Regions from separate parts of the Homo sapiens genome. Here regions 2 and 3 are each linked to region 1. Evidence: promoter capture Hi-C in 16 types of primary human blood cells and fetal thymus (Javierre and others, 2016). All regions are on one chromosome and are shown on one strand. Each heading gives the region's core, a stretch centred on a gene start or on the middle of the fragment in contact. The rest is flanking DNA. Distances are from core to core; before and after follow the strand shown.

What was found. Contacts are between HindIII fragments. The CHiCAGO score rates a contact against its expected background, and 5 or more counts as called.
Region 2: the fragment with the promoter of POLR3B here is called in contact with the fragment with the promoter of DEPDC4 in region 1 in 1 of 17 cell types (neutrophils); the score reaches 5.5 in neutrophils.
Region 3: a fragment that was not itself captured here is called in contact with the fragment with the promoter of DEPDC4 in region 1 in 1 of 17 cell types (fetal thymus); the score reaches 6.0 in fetal thymus.

The regions. Positions count from the first base shown.
Region 1 is chr12:100,265,651-100,268,328 of GRCh38, reverse strand. It overlaps DEPDC4 (DEP domain containing 4), which reads left to right and starts at 1,250. Exons shown (of 10, transcript NM_001364818.2): 1 at 1,250-1,409. The coding sequence starts at 1,253. SCYL2 (SCY1 like pseudokinase 2) reads right to left here and starts at 1,152. Exons shown (of 18, transcript NM_017988.6): 1 at 537-1,152. RefSeq lists enhancers at 518-577, 588-657, 1,328-1,407 and silencers at 728-807, 908-957. The HindIII fragment of the contact is 4,398 bases long and covers 303-2,678 here.
Region 2 is chr12:106,356,371-106,359,048 of GRCh38, reverse strand. POLR3B (RNA polymerase III subunit B) reads right to left here and starts at 1,301. Exons shown (of 28, transcript NM_018082.6): 1 at 1,098-1,301. The coding sequence starts at 1,169. The HindIII fragment of the contact is 8,226 bases long and covers 1-2,678 here.
Region 3 is chr12:106,299,314-106,301,991 of GRCh38, reverse strand. It overlaps a transcript of TCP11L2 not described here. Among named protein-coding and RNA genes, the nearest start is that of TCP11L2, 2.1 kb to the left of the region's middle. The HindIII fragment of the contact is 2,139 bases long and covers 233-2,371 here.

The sequences.
Region 1 (2,678 bases), core at 1-2,500:
ACAGTGGCAGGCTGATTTGGAGCATTTTTGCTAAACTATTTATTTTTCAGAACGGAGATAGGCTACTTAGAAAACTCACTCATAGTATCCAATGTTTTTAGAAAGTGTCATCACAAATAATTCCTGAGTTTGACGTACTAAAAAATAGTTGACACCTTCCAATGAAGTCACTACAGGCATAGCGCTTTTAAGCAGCTTGTCTGGAGCCTCCTCGAGTGCCTTAGAGGGTGGATTTGATAATATGGCCTCCTTAATTACGGATCACAGGTATGTGCTCAAAGTCCAATAAGTTTTTGCAAGCTTTATCGGTCTAAACCCTCCTCCATCCGTATTCTCCCGTTTAGAAAAACAAGACTGCAGGAGTAACCGTGGGGTTTTTTCTCTTAACAAAACCCCTGCCCCACCCACCTCACACACAATAACCTTCCATTCCAGAACTAAAGCTACTGTCAGAGAAGGACGGCGGGCGGCAGGGCCCTGGCTGGTGACCCAGGCTACCGGATTCCGGACCTCAGAACTGAGGTGAACTCTCTCACCCGGTCCTAGAGTAGTGTCCAATGTCCCCGAAAGGTACTACGTTCTCCACCACCGAAACCCGAGCTCTCGAGCCGGCATGGGGGGCTCTCCCTCCGGCAGCTGACTTCGATCCCGGGTCTCCCGTCGCCTCAAGGCCTCTTTCGAGGACTCGGCCCTCTCGGATCCGCTCCCCGGAGCTCGCTGCTCGTCCAGCCCCGCTTTGCGCGGGCGCCGACCGCCGATCGCCCGGCCGGCCGCCGGCAGGCCCGTCACCAGGCAACACCCACCAGCCTGAGCGGCCCTGGGAGGCCTAACCCGGGCGCGAGTCCTCCATTCCCTCCTCGCCGGCTCCGGGAGCCCAGGCGAGAGAGCCGCCGGTGAGGGAGGTCGGTCGGTGCCGGCGGCCGGTCACTTACCTCTTCCTTCTTCCAGGAGGGGCGGTGCTGGGGCTCTTTCCCCCCGCCCCCCTAATAAACGCCTCCTGGCTGTTCCTGCTCTGCCTTCGTGCCTGGCCACTGACTCTGGCTTTACTCCATATCCTCCGCCGCCCCCGCGGCCGCAAACGTCGGAGCTAGAAGGAAAGGGGTGGGGAGGGGAGGGACCGGGGACGAAGAGTAAGGGAGGGGGAAAAAGACTAAAAGACCTGCCGGCCGGGGGCATGACGTCACTTCCTGCCGGTTCGGAAGAGGCGGAGCCAGTACTTCTCTCCGCCCCGGGTGTCAGGTGGGGCGGGGCTATGGTGCCAGGGGAGGAGCCAGCGCGCGAGCTTATGGCGGTTCTTTTGACTCCGAGGTTCCGTAGACTTGTCAGTCAGAACGAGCTTCCGGGCCCAGGGCTGAACGGGCCAAGTTCCAGGAACCGTAGAGATGGCTTCTGCCGGAAAAGGAGGACAGGTAGCCCTGTATATCCTAGCCAAATGTGCAGTGAAGGTGGAGGGGGCAGCTGAAGGGAGCAGGCGGCTGGGACTCTGCTCCTCATTGGTCCAGGGCCCCGCCCATTTCCTAGCCCCGCCCCCTTCCTGCCCTACCAGGCACTGGACTGGGGGACCCAGGACTGAGGCTTTTTAGGGGTTACTGTGGTGAAGTGCCCTTGGAGCGTGCAGGAAAGCGTTTTTTCTCAAACTTTAATATACATACGAATCCCTAGGATCTTGTGAAAGTGCAAATTCTGATTGAGGAGTAGGGTCTGATAATCTGCGTTTCTAATACATGTCCAGATGGCACCAATGCTGCTGGTCCCTAGGCTACACTTACAGCAACAAGGGGTTAATGTACTAGAGGGCAAATTCCTTGAGCTAGAGGAGTTATTTCTTTAATCTAGCCTACTTGTTTAATGAAGGTTAGAGAGGTAGACTGTCTATGGAAAACAGGCTGTACCGCTGTATTTTCCACCTACCCCGTCGAGTACCCTCCTGCCCACCTCCGCCCATCACTTTCTGGCCTCCCCTCCTCAGTCTCCGCTCTGCCCACAATGTCTGGGGATAAGATTTCTTGAGTGATTAGACGGGTAACTTCTGTTACAGAAGGAATTTGAGGGTGGTGGATTTTTATTTCTGTCATTTTATCGTAAACATATGTATAGTTGGGCATACTTTTGCGGTTATGCATAGTTGGAGAAGAGAGCTTAAGTTCTTGGATTCTACCCACTTCCCCCTGCAAATCTAGAAAAAACATTCTAGAAGTTCTAAGTTATTCCCTTATCATTCTTTAATTTTTTTAATTAATTTTAATTAAATTTAATTTTAATTAAAATTTTACTGGGGTACGGAAGAATGAAGAATGACTGCGAACTATAGGTTTCTTTGTGGAATGATGCAATGGTCTGAAATTAGATAATAGTGATGGCTGCACAACTTTGTGAATGTACTAGAAACACTGAATTGTACACTTTAAAAGGGTACATCCTCTTTCATCAGCCACCATTACAATCCTTCTTCCCCAAGGTTACTCGTTTGAAGTTTATTCTTCCAGATCTTTCTATTTATTTACATACATTTTTACATAGGTTGGGAATTCATTTTTACCTAAGTAGGATAATAATATACAAGTTGTTCTGCTCAGCTCATTTTTAAAAAATTTTTGTTTTGGGTTTTTCTTTTTCCCTACTTAATGAGATCCTTGCACACTATAAACATAGCTCTACTTCATTCTTTCTAATGGCTG
Region 2 (2,678 bases), core at 52-2,551, 6.1 Mb before region 1:
ACAGGGTTTTGCCATGTCGCCCAAGCTGTTCTCAAACTCTTGAGCCCAAGTGATCCGCCCGCCTTGGCCTCCCAAACTACTGGTATTACAGGCCACCACGCCTAGCCAAGGAGGTTCTTATAATCCGATAGACTTACTGATCATGTCACTTTCCTGCTTAAACCCTTCAAAAGCTCTGCTCCAAGACAAAGTCCAAGCTCTGTCAGATGTTTATTGAAACTTTTCATAATCAAGACCCTTACTTAACCCTGTCTTTTATCTCTTCTCCTCTATTTTTCTTCACTCTAATACTACTGGATTTACTTTCCTTCCTCAAAAACATCCAATGGTCTTGCCGAGGAGGTTTCAAGTATCCTGTTCTCTTTCCCTGAAATCTCTCCTTTGCTATCTTCTCCGGCCACGTCTCCACTTCCCTATTCCACGTCAGTGTAGATTTTGAGGCTCAGAGAGATTACAAAATGTGCCTTATCAGATAACAAAATATGTCGACAGCCGCACTTCACTGGGCAGCTCGCTGTGGGGCAGCTGTCCTTAACTTCCGAGAAGCTGATGAAAGCTGTGGAGTCTCTCCCCCAGAAAACACACAGGCAAATTCTTTAGTAAATATTGAGGGCGTTTAAAATTCCCCTGCAACCCAAACTGGAACTTCAAGTTAAAAGGAAAGATGACTAGCTTGGAATTCAGACGATCTGGTTTTACCCCCACAGCCGGCTGTGGTGCCTCATGCAAATGGCCTGAGCTCCCTGGCCCCGTGTCCTCTGTAAGACTGCAAACATGCAATACGTCCCCCACAGTAAGTGCGAGGGTCAGTCCTCCCCACGCACACCTATGCTGGAAGAGCTCCAACCCTAGAGCCAGCAGCGGGGCTTCTCGGCCCCCGCAGCGGCTGACAGCTCCTCTGGGATCAGCCTTCACTCGCGCACGCGGAGGCCGGCTCTGGAAAAAAGACTCGCAAGCGCGACGCTCTGGGCATGCGCAGAAGCCCGGCGCATGCGCACAAACCGCCAGCCCGCCCCCTTGGCGGCCCGAGCACTCCGGGCAACGCCCCCTCAGGGCGCATCCTTGTCCCTGACGCTCCCTGCGTGCCTGGCACTGACCTCTACAGTCGGGATCGGCGCCGCCAGCTGCTCCGGAGTCAGGTTCCCAAACTCCTCCGCTAGCACGTCCATGCTGCTCACGAAGGAGGAAGAAACAGATAGAACCTCCGCGCCCGCCTTCCCTGCACCAAGCAAACTGCAAGACTCCCGGCGAACGGTGCGCGGAGGCCTAAACTGTCCCCGCCGTGCGTGTTAGCTAGAGACGCGGTAGAAAGGTTCCGCCCGCTCCCTGCCCGAATCTGCGGTGGAACCCGGATGTGGCCGAGGCCGAGTAAGGAAAGTACGCCCTCTGGTGTAGCTCGGAGGTCTGGCGCAGGGAATCCTAAGCCCCAGCTGTCAGGTTTCTTGCCAATTCTCTGGTAATTGAGACCAGCAAAACATAGTGGTTGTCATTTTAAAAGTAATCCGAAGAAAAGTGTAAACGCATAATTTACGCAACTTGAACCACTGAGGCAGAGAATTATTTAATGTAGTCCAAAATTCTATGCATTGTTTAGTATGGAAGAGCAGGAAACGTCCCAAATGCCTACCAATAGAAGATTGATTAAATAAATGATGGTACATGCGTGTAATGGAAGAGTGTTGAAAATTCTCAAAAGCACTAGATGGAAGATGTAGGAGTAAATACCCAGCGCATGGAGAAATTTAATATGAAAAGATGACATTTACGTTAGTAGGGGAAGGATGGCCTGTCCAGTAAATAATGTTTGAAGAGCTGATTACCCATTTGGGGAAAAAATACATGTAAGTGAATCTTTTGTGGATTAAATATTGAAATGTTAACAAAAACTTAGAAGAAAATGTAAGTGCAGATATTCATAACATTGAGATGTTGAAGACTTTCAAGACGGCAACAGTCAAATCATAAAGGATTTTATAATCTAAACACGATTTTATGATTCCACGGAAAATTTTTAATTTTCTGAACAGATTTTAAAAAATCACCAACAAATAGAATTAATAAAAAATAAATTGGCAGAAGACAAAGGGCTGGTCTCTCTAATTTAAAATGAGCTCATACAAATCAACAGAAAGAAAAATCCTATTAGAAAAAACAAGGCAAAATGCACCAATTAATTAATGGGTACGGAGTTTCGGTTTGGGAAGATGCAAAAGTTCTGTAAATGGAGAATGGTGATGGTTGCACAACAGTGTGAATGTATTTAATGCTGCTGACCTGTACATCATTTTAAAGGGTTAAAATGCTAAGTTTTATGTATATTTTACAACGATAAGAAAAGTTATGAAAATTTGTAAGTACATATATGCTTTCCAATTTCTCCCTCATAAAGGTAGAACCCTTGCACCAGGTTAATTATTCTTATTTACTAAAGAGCTACTTAAATTTCAGTACTTGTATTTTCTTTTTTTTTTTTTTTTTTTTTTTTTTTGAGACGGAGTCTCGCTCTGTCGCCCAGGTGGGACTGCGGACTGCAGTGGCGCAATCTCGGCTCACTGCAAGCTCCGCTTCCCGGGTTCACGCCATTCTCCTGCCTCAGCCTCCCGAGTAGCTGGGATTACAGGCGTGAGCCACCGCGCCCGGCCGTATTTTCTAAGTATTGCACTGATATCTGAAATACG
Region 3 (2,678 bases), core at 53-2,552, 6.0 Mb before region 1:
GCACGGGACGATTAGCTCCTTGGAGTCACACCCATCCAGGCCCTCTGAAGACTTGGCGTGCGTGCAAAAGATAAAGCGTCTTACTTCCTCTAGGGTTCTTGGCAGCACCTATCTCCGGGAGAAGTTTCCACCTTGGTTAATGTAAATAACCAGTCCCAGGAGGGCTCTGTGCCGTCTGGCCTGCTGCTCAGCTCCTGCTGTGGGCGTGCTTGAGGGTGTAGAGAAACAAGCTTCCCCCAACTGTTCACATCAAAACTATGCCTTCTGCCAGGTGTAAATCGGTGCTGTATTACTTGGGAAATAGTTTCATGCAGGAACTACTTACATGAAGTTTGTATAGACTAAAGTATTTCTGTTTAGTGCCGAAATTATGTCTGGATTGTGGAGGCAGATTGGCCACCACCGTTCAAAAACAACAACAACAAACAACAGGCAACATTTTAAAGCAGGGTAGAAAGTCAGTTGTTCAGTGGTTACAACACAGACTCCTCTATGGTTCCAGTCCTGGCTCTGACATTCACTATCCATGAGATCTTGGTCTCTGGGGATAACAATGATAGCTATTTCCTTGGGTTATTTTGAGGATAAAGTGAAATAAAGCATGTGAAGTGCTTAGCAGGGTGCACAGTAAGCACTCTAAGTATTAGTTATTGAAATTCTTTGGCAAACCACTGTGGCCAAACTTAGCTGGTGATCTGTATAAATTTGTATCTGTGCCTCCTTTTGCCACTTTCCTCTCTTCTCCTAAAATATACAACCTAATAATACAGGTTAAGAGATTAAATAGAAGGTGCTGTCCCCACCTGAGTTCTTCCCTACAAACATGCTCTTATTTGTGTCATTCGTTGGATAAGTAATCAGAATGACAGAAGCCTCCAATTTCAATTCCTGCCAAATGACAACCACCACACAACTGCCATCACCACCCTAAAAACTCCACAATAGAAAGATGAACACCCAAATCCCCCAAACTTCTGGTAATTCTGTGACAATGACACATGGCAACATTACTTCCTTTGTTAGCTTTGTAAGGATTTAAGTATTGTTTTGAGCTATGACATAAGTTGGAGCAGGTGACCATGAGTCAGGGTAGTTGTCCTTTATACTGGAGTGACCAGCTGCCTGATCCTAGGCATGACACTTCTTTTAAAGTTCAGATATGTAGCTCTCAAAGCCACCAGGAAAGCAGCTTTTGTCAAAGCAAGTTCAACTGTAACATCAGAGAACCAAGCTGAGATAAGAAAAGATGCTGGAAATACTATCTTCTGTTACTTTAATGTTAAATAACTTGCTATCTGAAAACCCTTCTGTGAATTACCTGACCAACTGCCCTTGGCCTGACTTGTGTATAAAAGCACTTTGGGCCAGGCACGGTGGCTCATGCCTGTAATCCAAGCACTTTGGGAGGCCGAGGCAGGTGGATCACAAGGTCAGGAGATCGAGACCATCCTGGCTAACACGGTGAAACCCCGTCTCTACTAAAAATACAAAAAAATTAGCTGGGCGTGGTGGCACGCACCTGTAATCCCAGCTACTCTGGAAGCTGAGGCAGGAGAATCGCTTGAACCTGGGAGGTGGAGGTTGCAGTGAGCCGAGATCACGCCACTTTACTCCGGCCTGGGCGACAGAGCGAGACTCCATCTCAAAACAAAACAAAACAAAAACAACACTTTGAAAAAATGGAGTGCTGTAAAATATAAGGCAGTTCCCTCAAAAATGAGCCTTGTATCACATTGTTGCTCAGAGGGCTCAGACAGTCATAACACAAAATCTTCCCTGCTCAGGTTATGTTTATGGCTTTCTGAGGAAAAAAAAAAAACAACAAAATCTGAAAAGGCAACCTCTTTAGAAGTAAAATAATTAGCATTTTATTTGAAGAAGACATATTATTACACCTAGTTTTTCTAACTTACCTTTTTGAACCACTTAGAGAACTCACAGTAATACAGTTTTTTTTTCTCCCTGTAAATTACACGGTAGACTAAATGTGGTCTATCACTCTTGGCAAAAGACTAAGGGCAGATCAAAATTTTTGTTCGATGAAGAAATAGAAATACTCATTTTCTTTTTACACATCTGAAATCTGAGTTTTAAATTATAATAAATCATTGACAAAAATCTAAAAATGTAATTACAGTTGGATTTGCAACCTCTCAGCCTTATAACTTTTCTAGTGGAGTTGCATATTGTACTGATTTAATGTAATGCAAATTTAGCTATACGGGACTCATCTAGGACAGAATATGAGGAACACAAGAGAATAATTTAAATACTTCCAGTGATCTTGTCCCCTATTTCTCTCTATGGGAGTTGTGAGGCTTCTCTTACTGTGTTTATCTGAGTTTCTGAGCTTCTCATTATGTTCCAAGCTTCTTTCCCACGGCTGGCTTCATGTTCGTGCAGTCTGGGCAGTTGCACAAGGCCCCACCCTTGGAAGAGCCCTGTGCTTGGTTTAATACATTGCTGCTGTTGTGTTGAGATTCTTAATACTGTGCTTTTTGAAAGGGGGCCTTGCATTTTCATTTTGCACTGGACCTGGCAAATTATGTAACTGGTCCTGATCTCCCCACACAGAATATGAGTCTAGTGGTTAAAGGTGCTTATCTTCCTGCCCCTAAGTGCCAATCAATTATTTCAACCAGTGCTCACTTGAAGAAACTTATGTCTGTTTCAATGCT